Regions from separate parts of the Homo sapiens genome. Here all the other regions are linked to region 3. The links are contacts of gene promoters, found by promoter capture Hi-C in blood cells and fetal thymus (Javierre and others, 2016). All regions are on one chromosome and are shown on one strand. The core of a region is centred on a gene start or on the middle of the fragment in contact, and the rest is flanking DNA. Distances in the headings are between cores, read along the strand shown. Region 1 overlaps LOC107984710 (a long non-coding RNA gene). Region 2 overlaps LOC105370640 (a long non-coding RNA gene). Region 3 holds the start of DICER1 (dicer 1, ribonuclease III).

The links. The method cuts DNA at HindIII sites, captures the fragments that hold promoters and counts their contacts. A CHiCAGO score of 5 or more calls a contact.
Region 1: a fragment that was not itself captured here is called in contact with the fragment with the promoter of DICER1 in region 3 in 1 of 17 cell types (naive B cells); the score reaches 5.6 in naive B cells.
Region 2: a contact is called between a fragment that was not itself captured here and the fragment with the promoter of DICER1 in region 3, in 1 of 17 cell types (naive B cells). The highest score is 5.4, in naive B cells.

What each region holds. Positions count from the first base shown.
Region 1 is chr14:95,355,599-95,359,258 of GRCh38, reverse strand. All of the region lies in intron 2 of LOC107984710 (a long non-coding RNA gene), which reads right to left. Among named protein-coding and RNA genes, the nearest start is that of LINC02292, 28 kb to the right of the region's middle. The HindIII fragment of the contact is 2,033 bases long and covers 797-2,829 here.
Region 2 is chr14:95,394,218-95,398,065 of GRCh38, reverse strand. LOC105370640 (a long non-coding RNA gene) reads left to right here. Exons shown (of 3, transcript XR_944174.3): 3 at 1,787-1,903. Among named protein-coding and RNA genes, the nearest start is that of LINC02292, 67 kb to the right of the region's middle. The HindIII fragment of the contact is 411 bases long and covers 2,331-2,741 here.
Region 3 is chr14:95,156,186-95,159,811 of GRCh38, reverse strand. It overlaps DICER1 (dicer 1, ribonuclease III), which reads left to right and starts at 2,283. Exons shown (of 27, transcript NM_177438.3): 1 at 2,283-2,582. It overlaps DICER1-AS1 (DICER1 antisense RNA 1), which reads right to left and starts at 2,124. Exons shown (of 4, transcript NR_015415.1): 1 at 1,954-2,124; 2 at 1,578-1,619; 3 at 777-936. RefSeq lists enhancers at 1,813-1,882, 1,923-2,022 and silencers at 2,113-2,572, 2,633-2,992. The HindIII fragment of the contact is 7,422 bases long and covers 1-3,626 here.

The DNA.
Region 1 (3,660 bases), core at 564-3,063, 200 kb before region 3:
AATGAAAAAGCAACTCTTAAAAAGCCCACTCAGGGGCCGGGTGCGGTGGCTTACACCTGTCATCCCAGCACTCTGGGAGACCGAGGTGGGCAGATCACTCGAGGCCAGGAGTTCAAGACCAGTCTGGCCAATATGGCAGAACCCTGTCTCTACTAAAAAAAATTAGCCAGGTATGGTGGCGCATGACTGTAATCCCAGCTACTTGGGAGGCTAAGGCACAAGTATCGCTTGAACCTGGGAGGTGGAGGTTTCAGTGAACCAAGATCATGCTACTGCACTCCAGCATGGGTGACAGAGCGAGACTGTCCCAAAAAAAAAAAAAAAAAAAAAAAAAAAAGGAAAGGAGAAAAAGAAAAAAAGCCCACTCAGGGATTGGGGCCTGCAGAAGATCTGGACTCAAATTTTATAGCAAGTGGCTTAAATAAGAAATGGAATTTGAGCTAATTTCCTCACTTACAAGGCTGCCTGCCTGCCTTACAGGGATTTGGGGAGAGTAATGTATAGAAAGTGCCTTCCTCAATGGAGCCGGCATCACCATAATCTGCTATGTGTGCCCTGGTCTTTACAGTTAACAAATCTCCTTCACTTGCAAAATTTCATTTTGTTTTCACCATAATCCCAGGAGTTCAGCAGGACTGCTATGTTTAATAGTCACCTTTACAGAGCAGGAAATTGAGGGTCAGAGAGATGAAGCAACTTACCAAGTTCACACAGCAACTCAGCGTTAGAACTGAGACGAAAACACAGAGTTTGAATCTAAAGCTTTGAGGGTTGGTCTGATTCTGTTGACAAAGCTTCATGACAATGCCAGAAGACTCTGGGGACTGGTATTTCCAAAGTAATTAGTCACATCTAACATAGGAGAGACTTAGGATCAAGCACCAAAGATCTGCCACCTATTTTGGGCATGTGAGTAGCCCAAGGAATGTTCTAGAAGGAATACCTGGTGAGAGAAATCATGTTTCCCAAAGATGGCCACAACAGTAGCTCCCATCCCACATGCTGTACCTGTAGTAGGACTGTCTCATTCTCTCATTAGGATGTGGGGTCTAATTTGCCTCCCCTGGAATCTGGGCTGGCCTTACAGACTTGCTTGACAAATATAAAGTGGTCATTAGTGGTATTCTGGGACTTCTAGGGCTAGGTCATAAGAAGCCTTGCAGTGTCCACTGGGGTCTCTGGGGTTGATCTTGGAGCACTCTGTGTTGTAAAATTCTTTACACAGAGAGGCCATATATGGATGTTCCCAGGGACAGCCTTAGCCATGCTCCCAGTTGACGACCAGCAGGTCATCATGCTGTGTGAGCCATCTTGGACGTCCTGCAACGTCAAGCCCTCAGATAATTCCAACCCCAGCTGAATCCAACTACAAACAGCATAAGAGAACCTACGCAAGAACTGGCTGAGTCCAGTCAAATCCCAGAACCACAGGAGACAATAATGCATCCATATTTTAAGCCATACAGCTGTGGATGGTATATTATAAAGCAATGAATAACTGGAATACCTGGAGTGGTTTACAGGGCTCTTCATTTAAAGAGAAACTGAGGCTAAGAAATTAATCAAGGCCCTTCCTCTGGGCTCTCAGAACGCTCAGTGTAATTGCTATAAGGGTATCTGAGCCCAAATCATTGGTTTACTTGTCTGTCCTACGAGACTGTGAGCTCTTGGGGGATAGAGAATATATTAGGGCTCTGGAGTTGCTAGTAACGGAAATAAAACTGGCTTACTTAAGCAAAGCAAAATTGATTGGGAGGATTTGGGAGAGCTCAAAGAATTAGAATAAAAACCAGACTGGGTTCAGAGAACAGCAGTGATCCAGGGCAGGGGCACATGGAGAGTCTCTGGGGGTGCCAGGGCTATACATGAAGAGTAATCCTTTGTCCCTGTCATGTTATGCTGCTCAAGATTCCAATTCCAGGGGGAATACTCTTGACTGGCCTGCACTGGGCCACAGAAGGGCAGGCCCCACTTGGATGTGGGCCCCACTCAGGCTCTGTCCATTGGATGGGCTGTCCCCTAAACAAATTCAGGATGTTGATGCCAGAAGAATGGGGAGTGGGTATTGAAGAGGCAAAGTTGGGCCATCACATTTGCCCCAGCAACCCCAGTACCCAGCTCAGTGTCTGGCACATAATAGGTGCTCAAGAAATATTATTTTGATGTGTGAACAAATAAACAATCTAATGAATAAATGTGCATGAATGAATGAAGCAACACATGAACAAGTGCATAGTTAGACAATGCGTGGGCCATGTGCAGGCCTTTGAAGACACCTGCTAGATATTACAGCACTTTAACTCCCCTCCACCAAGCCAGGCATTTTTTTCTCAAGAGAGTTTCTGATACCTGGATTCTAGAATGTATACAATTTTAATCCCCTAATCCTGTCAGTTTAAGAACATTATACACTTTGAACAGGGCCTGTGATAATTCCTGAAAACACCCCAGGAGCGGTGACTCCCTAGCCCTGCTTGATTTTAAATTCAGTTTTCAGGGGAGGGCTGGTGGAGGAGATAGATGTGAGGGAGGCTTGTCTCTGAGGCAAGAGCTGGGAGGTCTGGCATTTCCTTTTATGGGTCCACAGCTGTTCAGCAGAAGGCAGCTGGACGAGGCTTGGTCTGGTGGCCGCCACACTACACCCAAGGCAGGTAGATGCGTCATCTGCACATCTGCCCAAAACCTGCACGTAAAGGACGACAGACCATGTTGTCTCACGCCTTACACAGACTCACTAAGGGTAAAAGGTCAGACTTCACCAACTCCTGAAAACGTCGCCACTTCTATTTTTGGTACACTTTCAAGGCACTCATCCTAGGTGGATAAGCTTTGGGGAGACAGGCCAGAACGAGGTCCCGGGTCAGGAGCCCAGCTGGTTGGGCCCAGTTGCCGGTGTGAGGCCTTCCAATTTGTTCTGAGACCCCCATCCCATGAACCAAATCCAAATAAAGTGACATTCCCAGCCTGCTGGTCCTGTCCTGGTGACTGGGGAGAGAATGGGTTCTCGCTCCGGCCAGGACTATAGAATTTAATGTTAATGATGGCCAATAGTGCCCCCTGGGATGGGCAATGGACTTTATTGGCCCCAGACATAGTCATTCTGGTGGGGGACTCAGGACCAGAGCTGATTCAGCCTAACGGTGGCAGAGGGGGGTGGCCAAGGAACTGGAAAGTAGTGAATAGAATCTTTGATGCCTTTACAATTTGTTAGCACACGCACAAAGAAAACTTAAAAAGCAAATTGGCTCAAATATATATTAATACCTCGACACACCCTGATTTACTCATCTGGAGGTAACTTACCAGTCAACAGATATTCTCCAGGACAGGAGGGAAAGGGTTAAGGAAGGAAAGGTCATTTGTGCTGAGCACCAGGGGGTGCCAGGGGTGATGTTAGGAACTTTCAATATATTATGTCCTTTAGGCCCTACAGCAGTCTGGAGATTCAATGCAACCTCATTTCACAGGTAAGGAAACTGAGTCCACAGAGGTGAGGTACATTGCCCAAGGTCATGATACTCCTAAGTGGCAAACCTAGGATTTGAACCTCGGTCAAGTCAGACTCTGTGGCCCATCTCCATTTCATTACATCATACCATCTCCTGGGAAGTAAACAAAAGAGGTGTTTGAATGGAAACGCACAGACCTCATTCACCAGAG
Region 2 (3,848 bases), core at 1,287-3,786, 240 kb before region 3:
ACAACCATGCACCACACAGAGGCACATATAGACCTAGACACACTCCATACATACACACACTTGCACACATACAATCACACACACCATGCATACACACACATGCCACACAGACAAAACACACACCACACACAGATATATGCACACATGCCAAACACACCCACCACACCACATACAGGCATACACACATGGATGCACCACATACAGACACACACATACACATCATAGACACATGCACATGCTTGCACATACCCCCCACCTGCATACATGTGTGTACACACCCCCCCACACACCAAACACACACAGATGCACACATACACTACACATACAGATACACTACATACCACACACAGACACCACAGAGGCACATATGGATACAGATAGAGACAGTCAACATACACAATTGCCAGACATGCAAGCCATATACACAGGTGCGCACCCACACCACACACACAGAGACCTACATAGACACAGGCACATGGTGCTCTGGGCAAAGTGTTGTGACCGTGTCTCACGGCTTGTCAGGTTGGGAGCCGTAGCAGAGCTCTGGGGGTACATCCCTGGGGGATCCCTCCTCGACTCTGGTCTGATTAAGTCAGCTCTGCAGAAACCAGAAAATTAAATTTGGGGCCATGTCTGTCTTCCGGATATGGTGCATAATTTCAGGATTACTCTGGGTAAAGAAAAGAGAAAGGGCTCTTTTCTTTTTTTAGGGTTTGGAAAGGAAAACATGGTTGTGTGGGCTAACGTGTATTGCTGGGCGAGGTCTTCAGGGGTATGGTTCGGAGCCATGAGGGAGGCGTCTGTGCAAGCAGCAAGCCTTCCTTTTTGGGGCCAGGTAGGGGGTCGGTAATGCAGAGGTTATAAAGAAAGAGATTGCATTTGATTAATGAAATATTTTCTTACAATCATGTTTTTGCTGAAATGCATGTTCAACCCTGACCAAAGGCCAGGGAAGCCAAATGCAAAACATACAGTGTGCGGTTGCCAGAATATCTCCCAAGCTACATTTTAATATATGTCAAAATTCAAATTTACCCTGGAGTCAAGGAAGTCAGAGAGGGAGACCTTTGCCTTATGGGTACTGCATACCATGCCTAATAAAATGATAATGCAACCTTCACAGTTTGCTAGGCACTTCCACCCACAGTCTTTCATTTGATTCTTACAATAATGTCAAATGCTTTTTCGTCTCTTCCACTGAAGAGTAAAACAAGGCTGAGAGAGGTAGAAAGGTGACCCCAAGATCATAGCCTGAAAATGGCCTTGCTGCCGTCCAGCCCTGCCCTCCAGTGATCTCTTGTTCCAAACCTGCAACACAGCAACGAAGCAAACCCACTGTTTATGTCTCCTCATTTGCAATCCCAAAACTATCAAGAGCAGATGAGAGCAAGCCCTTAAGGTTAATAGAGCAGAGTTAGGGAACCCTGAGCAAAATCTCTTATCCCTGAGGTACCTGATTGGTTATCTGAATGGCTGCCAACACAGAGCACTGTGTTAAGAGGGATTCTGAGGCTGTGATCAAGGAAAGAACTGCATGATCTCTTGGTGATATCTCCCATGACCGTCGTAGGGAGGGGCTTATTGTCATCTTCACTTTGGCCTCAGTTTCATTATCTATAAAGGGGAAGGAATTGCTCTCAATCTGGGTCTGTGAACTAACATGCCTACAGAACCCAAACAGGAAACATCTGAGCAGACCAGATGTATTAGTTTGTTCTCGCACTGCTATAAAGAACTACCTGAGACTGGGTAATTTATAAAGAAGAGAGGTTTAATTCTCTCACAGGTTCTACAAGCTCTACAGGAAGCGTGGATTGGGAGGCCTCAGGAAACTTACAATCATGGCAGAAGGTGAGGAAGAAGCAGGCACGACTTACGTAGCTGAAGCAGGAGGAAGACAGCGAGCCTCTGCTACACACTTTTAAACAAGCAGCTCTCATGAGAACTCACTATCACAAGAACAGCAAGGGTGAAGTTTGCCCCCATGATCCAGTCACCTCCCACCAGGCCCCTCCTCCAACATTGGGGATTACAATTCGACATGAGATTTGGGCAGGGAAACAAATCCAAACCACATCCCCAGACCAAGTGTAAAAACATCCTGAAAGAGGGAAGGTTGGGATCTTTGTCCAATCATTGCCATGTGGGGATGTGGGCTTTGGATTAGAGTGACAGTTTCTCAATCATTCAAGATTTCACATTATAATGTTAAAAAAATTTTTTAGGTGGCAACTAATTTGAATATTGTTAAAAAATACCTGTGCTAACATGCGTGTGTACGCATGTGCTGTCAGGCTGGGTGTGGCCCACGGACCATTGCTTTTCAAGCTTTGGTTTAAATAGTCCCCAAGATTCCTTTCATTTCAAAAATTCTAAAATTCTGTGTGGGATGCAGGTCCACAGACTAGGTGCATGTGAAATGTTTCTCAATAGATCTAGAGTTCTAAACTCAGTCCCTCACCCACGTGGGCCGAGATTAGTTTGAGCACCTGCTGTGTGCCTATTGGGCTTCTACAGACATTGTCTCACTCAGGCTTCATGACTAGTCCAGCTGGCTCTTCTCCCTTATTTTGCAGCTGAAGACACAGGCTCAGAGAGATGACTAATTTATCCAAGGTTGCCCAGCACATAACCAAACTGAAATTTACTCCTTGGTGATTTCTCAAGATTTTGGTTTCATGATGGAAATCCCATGACATAATCAGCACTCGGTGGAAACTCAATGATAAATGGGTAAAGCTTGGGAGGGCTTCACCCCAATATTGTATCTAGATCCACTGTGGAATTTCCAGCATTCCCAAGGATTGTAACTTGATCGTCTTCAATGAAGAACCCAGCAGGCATTATCAGGCTGGGCCGGTACTGGCAGCCCCTGGGTGAGCAATTTCTGGCAGGCATCCAGCCCATAAAGTGTTCTAAAAGGTCGCTTGGTTTTGGCTGTTGGTAGAAAGTGGGAGAGATGGAGAGGCCCCGAAAGCTGGGGTCTTTCCCATCTGTTCCACATTACAATGCTGTTAAATATGTTATGATGTCCATTGTACCAACAAATACAAGCAGAACTAATCTCTTTGTTTAAGGTTCCTTGACTGACATCATTGGTAATTAGATGACATACTTATTTTCTCATGACAAGAGTGGACTGGTTCAGTGAGAGGTTTGGAAAGAGTACAGGCTCTCACCCACGAAGTTTAGTGGGAAGTATCTTGATGCTGATGGATGTGAAAAACGACAGCTCCAGGGATGGGGATGGAAAAGAGAAATGCTTTGCCATTGTCTCAGCCACAGAGATGAAATCTAGAGGAGACTAAAGACTTTCTGAGTGTCTATTCATTCATTCATCCATCCATCCATCCATCCATCCATCCATCCATCCATCCATCCAATTATCCATCTATCCATCCATCCATCCATCCATCCATCCATCCATCCATCCATCCATCCTTACATATATCCATACATCAAGCCAGCCATCCATTCACCCATCCATCTATCCAACCATCCATCCATCTTTCCATCCATTCATCCATCATCCATCCATATATTCAACCATCTATTCATCCATCCATCCATCCTCTGTTCATCTCTCCAACCATCCATCCATCCATCCATACATACATACATACCTTCAACCCTCCATTCACTCATCCATCCATACATCCACACATCCATACATCCATTCATCCTTCCATTCATCCATCCATCATCCAGCCATCCATTCATCCAACTATCCATCCATCCTTCCATCCATCCATGCATCCATCCATCCTTCCATTTGTCCATCTTTCCATCTACCCTTCCATACATGCATCCATATCCCCATCCATTTTTTTATCCTCATTGCTGGAAGG
Region 3 (3,626 bases), core at 1,034-3,533:
TGGCCAACATGGTGAAACCCCGTCTCTACTGAAAATACAAAAATTAGCCGGGCGTGGTGGCACATGCCTGTAACCCAGCTACTTGGGAGGCTGAGGCAGAAGAATCGCTTGAACCTAGGAGGCAGAGGTTGCAGTGAGACGAGATTGCGCCATTGCACTCCAGCCTGGGCGACAAGAGTGAAACTCTGCCTCAAAAAAGAAAAAAACAAATACATAAAATTAAAAAAATAAAAAAATCAGGTATACCTGCTGATGGAACAAGCAGCCTGGCTAGTCTTGACAGATTGCAAGAGGGCAACCAGAGGGGCTGAAGTTGTACCAGCCCACAAATTTCCACTGCCAATAGAGTCCAGTGCCTACCCCCATACTGAGATGCTGTCCTTCTCATAAAGGCTTATCAGGGAGTCCACCGAAGAGATATCTACATTTGGGGATAAGTTAAGACGATGTTCTTTAAGCCAGACACTTATTTAACGCCCACCGATATTTTAATTCCTAGCTACAAAGAAAACCTTATATGTATGACTGGGGTCTTAAAGGTATGACATGCTCACCGTGCTTGACATATAAGAAACTACTTTTTTAAATACATGGGTCTGCCAGGAGCATCCTACTTCCTAATTTTGCCCATAAATATGCTACTTTCAAGTGAAACCTTAAGCCAATTCATAGTAAATATATTATCAAAATTTTAGCACAGTAATGACTGAGCACACCAGCCTCAAAGCCAGACTACGTGGGTTCAAATCTCAGTTGTTCACTTACTGGCTACTTACTTGTTGGAAGTTATTCCATTTCTTCGTCTGTTAAAACAGGAAGCAGGCTGGGTACGGTGGCTCACGCCCGTAATCCCAGCACTTTGGGAGGCCAAGGCGGACGGATGACAAGGTCAGAAATCGAGACCATCATGGCCAACATGGTGAAACCCCGTCTCTTCTAAAAATACAAAAATTAGCTGGGTGTGGTGGCGTGCCCCTGTAATCCCAGCTACTCGGGAGGCTGAGGCAGGAGAATCACTTGAACCTGGGAGGCGGAGATTGCAGTAAGCCCAGGTCGCACCACTGCACTCCAGCCTGGAGACAGAGTGAGACTCCGTCTCAAAAGAAAAAAAAAAAAAAAACAGGAAGCAGTTTCAGCACCTACCTCACAATGTGCACACAGTTAAAGCACCTACCTCACAGGGTGCACACAGTTAAAGCACCTACCTCACAGGGTGCACCTAAGGATCACAGGCATGCAAGCCCTAGATCAGCCTGCCCAATGGCAATATAATGCAGGCCACAGGTGACATTTAAAATTCTGTAGAACCCACACTAAAAAATAAACAAATAAAACTTTTATCCCAATATATGGAAAAAGTTTATCACTTCAACATGTAACAATTTTTTGAACATTATTTGGTAAAGAATGCATATATCTCGATTCCGACTAGCCATACTTTAAGTGCTCAGGAGCCATGTGGGGCTGGTGGCCCCAAACTGAACAGCACAGCCCAGGCAGCAGGGGCGCATAGTAGGTTCTGCTCACGCCCATGGTCTGAAAGAAACACGGTTGCAGTTGCTGTGAGCACACCTCACCTGGAGCAAACCGGCCTATCAGGGGGTCCACTGAAGAGATGTCTACATTTGGGGATAAATTAAGAAGATGTTCTTTAAGCCAGCCACTTATTTAATTCCCACCGATATTTTAATTCCTAGCTTCAAGCTGTGGTGCGCGGTTCCGACCTATGCAAATGAACAGCTTACAAACAGAGGGCCACCATCTATTTCTCATTATCTGGGGATCCCGGTTGGGGTGGGGGGCGGAAGTGGGTGTTTGTTATTTCCCCAAATGCGGAGGCCCCTGCACCACTAACGCGAGGAAACGCAGGCGAGTGGGAAGGTACTTTAAAAAGGGGAGGGAGGTGCTCAGAGGGAAGCTAAGCTCTCCGGGAAACAATTACGGCCACGTTACGGTCTGTGGGTGCCAGAAGGAGCAACAATGGAGGCAGTCGAATTCCGAGAGCTCAGAGAGTCTGCCAAACTTAGCCGGCCTCGGCGCGCGGGTTCCCGGGGGCCCCAAAAACTCCGGGCAACTGCGGCCCAACGCCAAGGTCCAGTCCAGGCGCTGGGCCGCAAACGCCTCTCCGGCCTCCGCGCGCGCGCCCGCTGTCTCCCTGCTCCTGAGTGGCTGGGGGGCCGGGATTAACCTTTCACCGCCAGGCCCTGTCCAATCACAGGCTCGCTCTCATGCCGCCACGGGGCGAGCGGAGCGTGGGGGCGCGGAGGGGCGGTGCGGGAGCCAGTGGGATTCTCCAAGCGGCTGTGCGCCGTTGCCGCGGGCCGTGCGCTGGCTGCCGGCCAGCCGGGCGCTGCGCAGTCTCCGCAGGCGCCGGCGGGAGGGGTCGAGGCGGAGGCGCGGCGCAGGCTGCTGCAGGCCCAGGTGAATGGAGTAACCTGACAGCGGGGACGAGGCGACGGCGAGCGCGAGGAAATGGCGGCGGGGGCGGCGGCGCCGGGCGGCTCCGGGAGGCCTGGGCTGTGACGCGCGCGCCGGAGCGGGGTCCGATGGTTCTCGAAGGCCCGCGGCGCCCCGTGCTGCAGGTGAGGCGGGCTCCCGCGGAGCAGCTTTGTGTCCGGGGCGGGGAGCGGGTCGCCTGGCCGCGCTCCCGCCTCCGCGCGGAGGCCCGCGTGCCGGCCATGGCCCCGAGCCGCGCGTCCGGGCCTGGCGGGCGCTGACGAAGGGCGCGGCCTCGCCTGCCTCGTCGTCCCGCACAGCGCGGCCTGTGGACCCGGCGTCTGCCCGCCTCGGCTCTGCTCCTGGGCCCGGACCCCGGCGCCTCCCCGCGAGGCAGCCCTGGGAGACTTTCCGGGCCGCCGTGGCGTGGTGGGGGATGCCGGCGCCTGTCCACTCCCCGGCCTGGCGAGGCCTGGGGCTCTTGACAGGTCCCGTCACGCGCGCTAAGGTGGCGCGGGAGCAGCGGAGGTGGAGACGCGCGCCTGACCTGCCGGAGCACCCTGGGGCCCTCCTCTGATGGGGCCGCTGTGCCGCGCCCGGAGGGGACGAAGCTGGGCTCTCGGTCCCTCCCGGGAGGGTCCTGTGTGATTACTGTCAGGGGACCAGATTGGGGCCCTGGGGGGCGGGCAGGGGCCGAGGCCATTCTTTTGCCTCTCCCCTCAGATGTTTTTGTGCCAAAATGCCTAGACCCTGCGGAGGACCCTTTCTTCAGGGTTTTTGATTTTGGGGAAATCAGTGTATGTTTTAAGTTAGCACATCAGATTTCTGTAGATTGTCCAGAAAAGCTGAGTTGCCCTGATGGCTCTGCCTGGAGGTCAGAGCCAGCAAACCACTGAGTGTGTCCTTAGGAACCTGAAGATCCGCGGAAACGTGGAGATGAGTTGGAGGGTCCTATTTGTGTAGTGTTAACTCCGTGCTTTTGTGGAGAGAGTTGTGGTTAAAGGGACACGTTACTGGTCTACACGATAAGTAAGTGTTCTTAGGACTTTCAGGTTTTAAAAACATTCATCTGATGAAAGAGGATCACTTGGACGCCTATGCTTCTGTCTTCGAATATTCTGAATCTTTACAATCCTGATTGTCAGGTGTCTTCGTGGTGCTTGTTTTCAAACAGTGGAAAAGGACTCAGG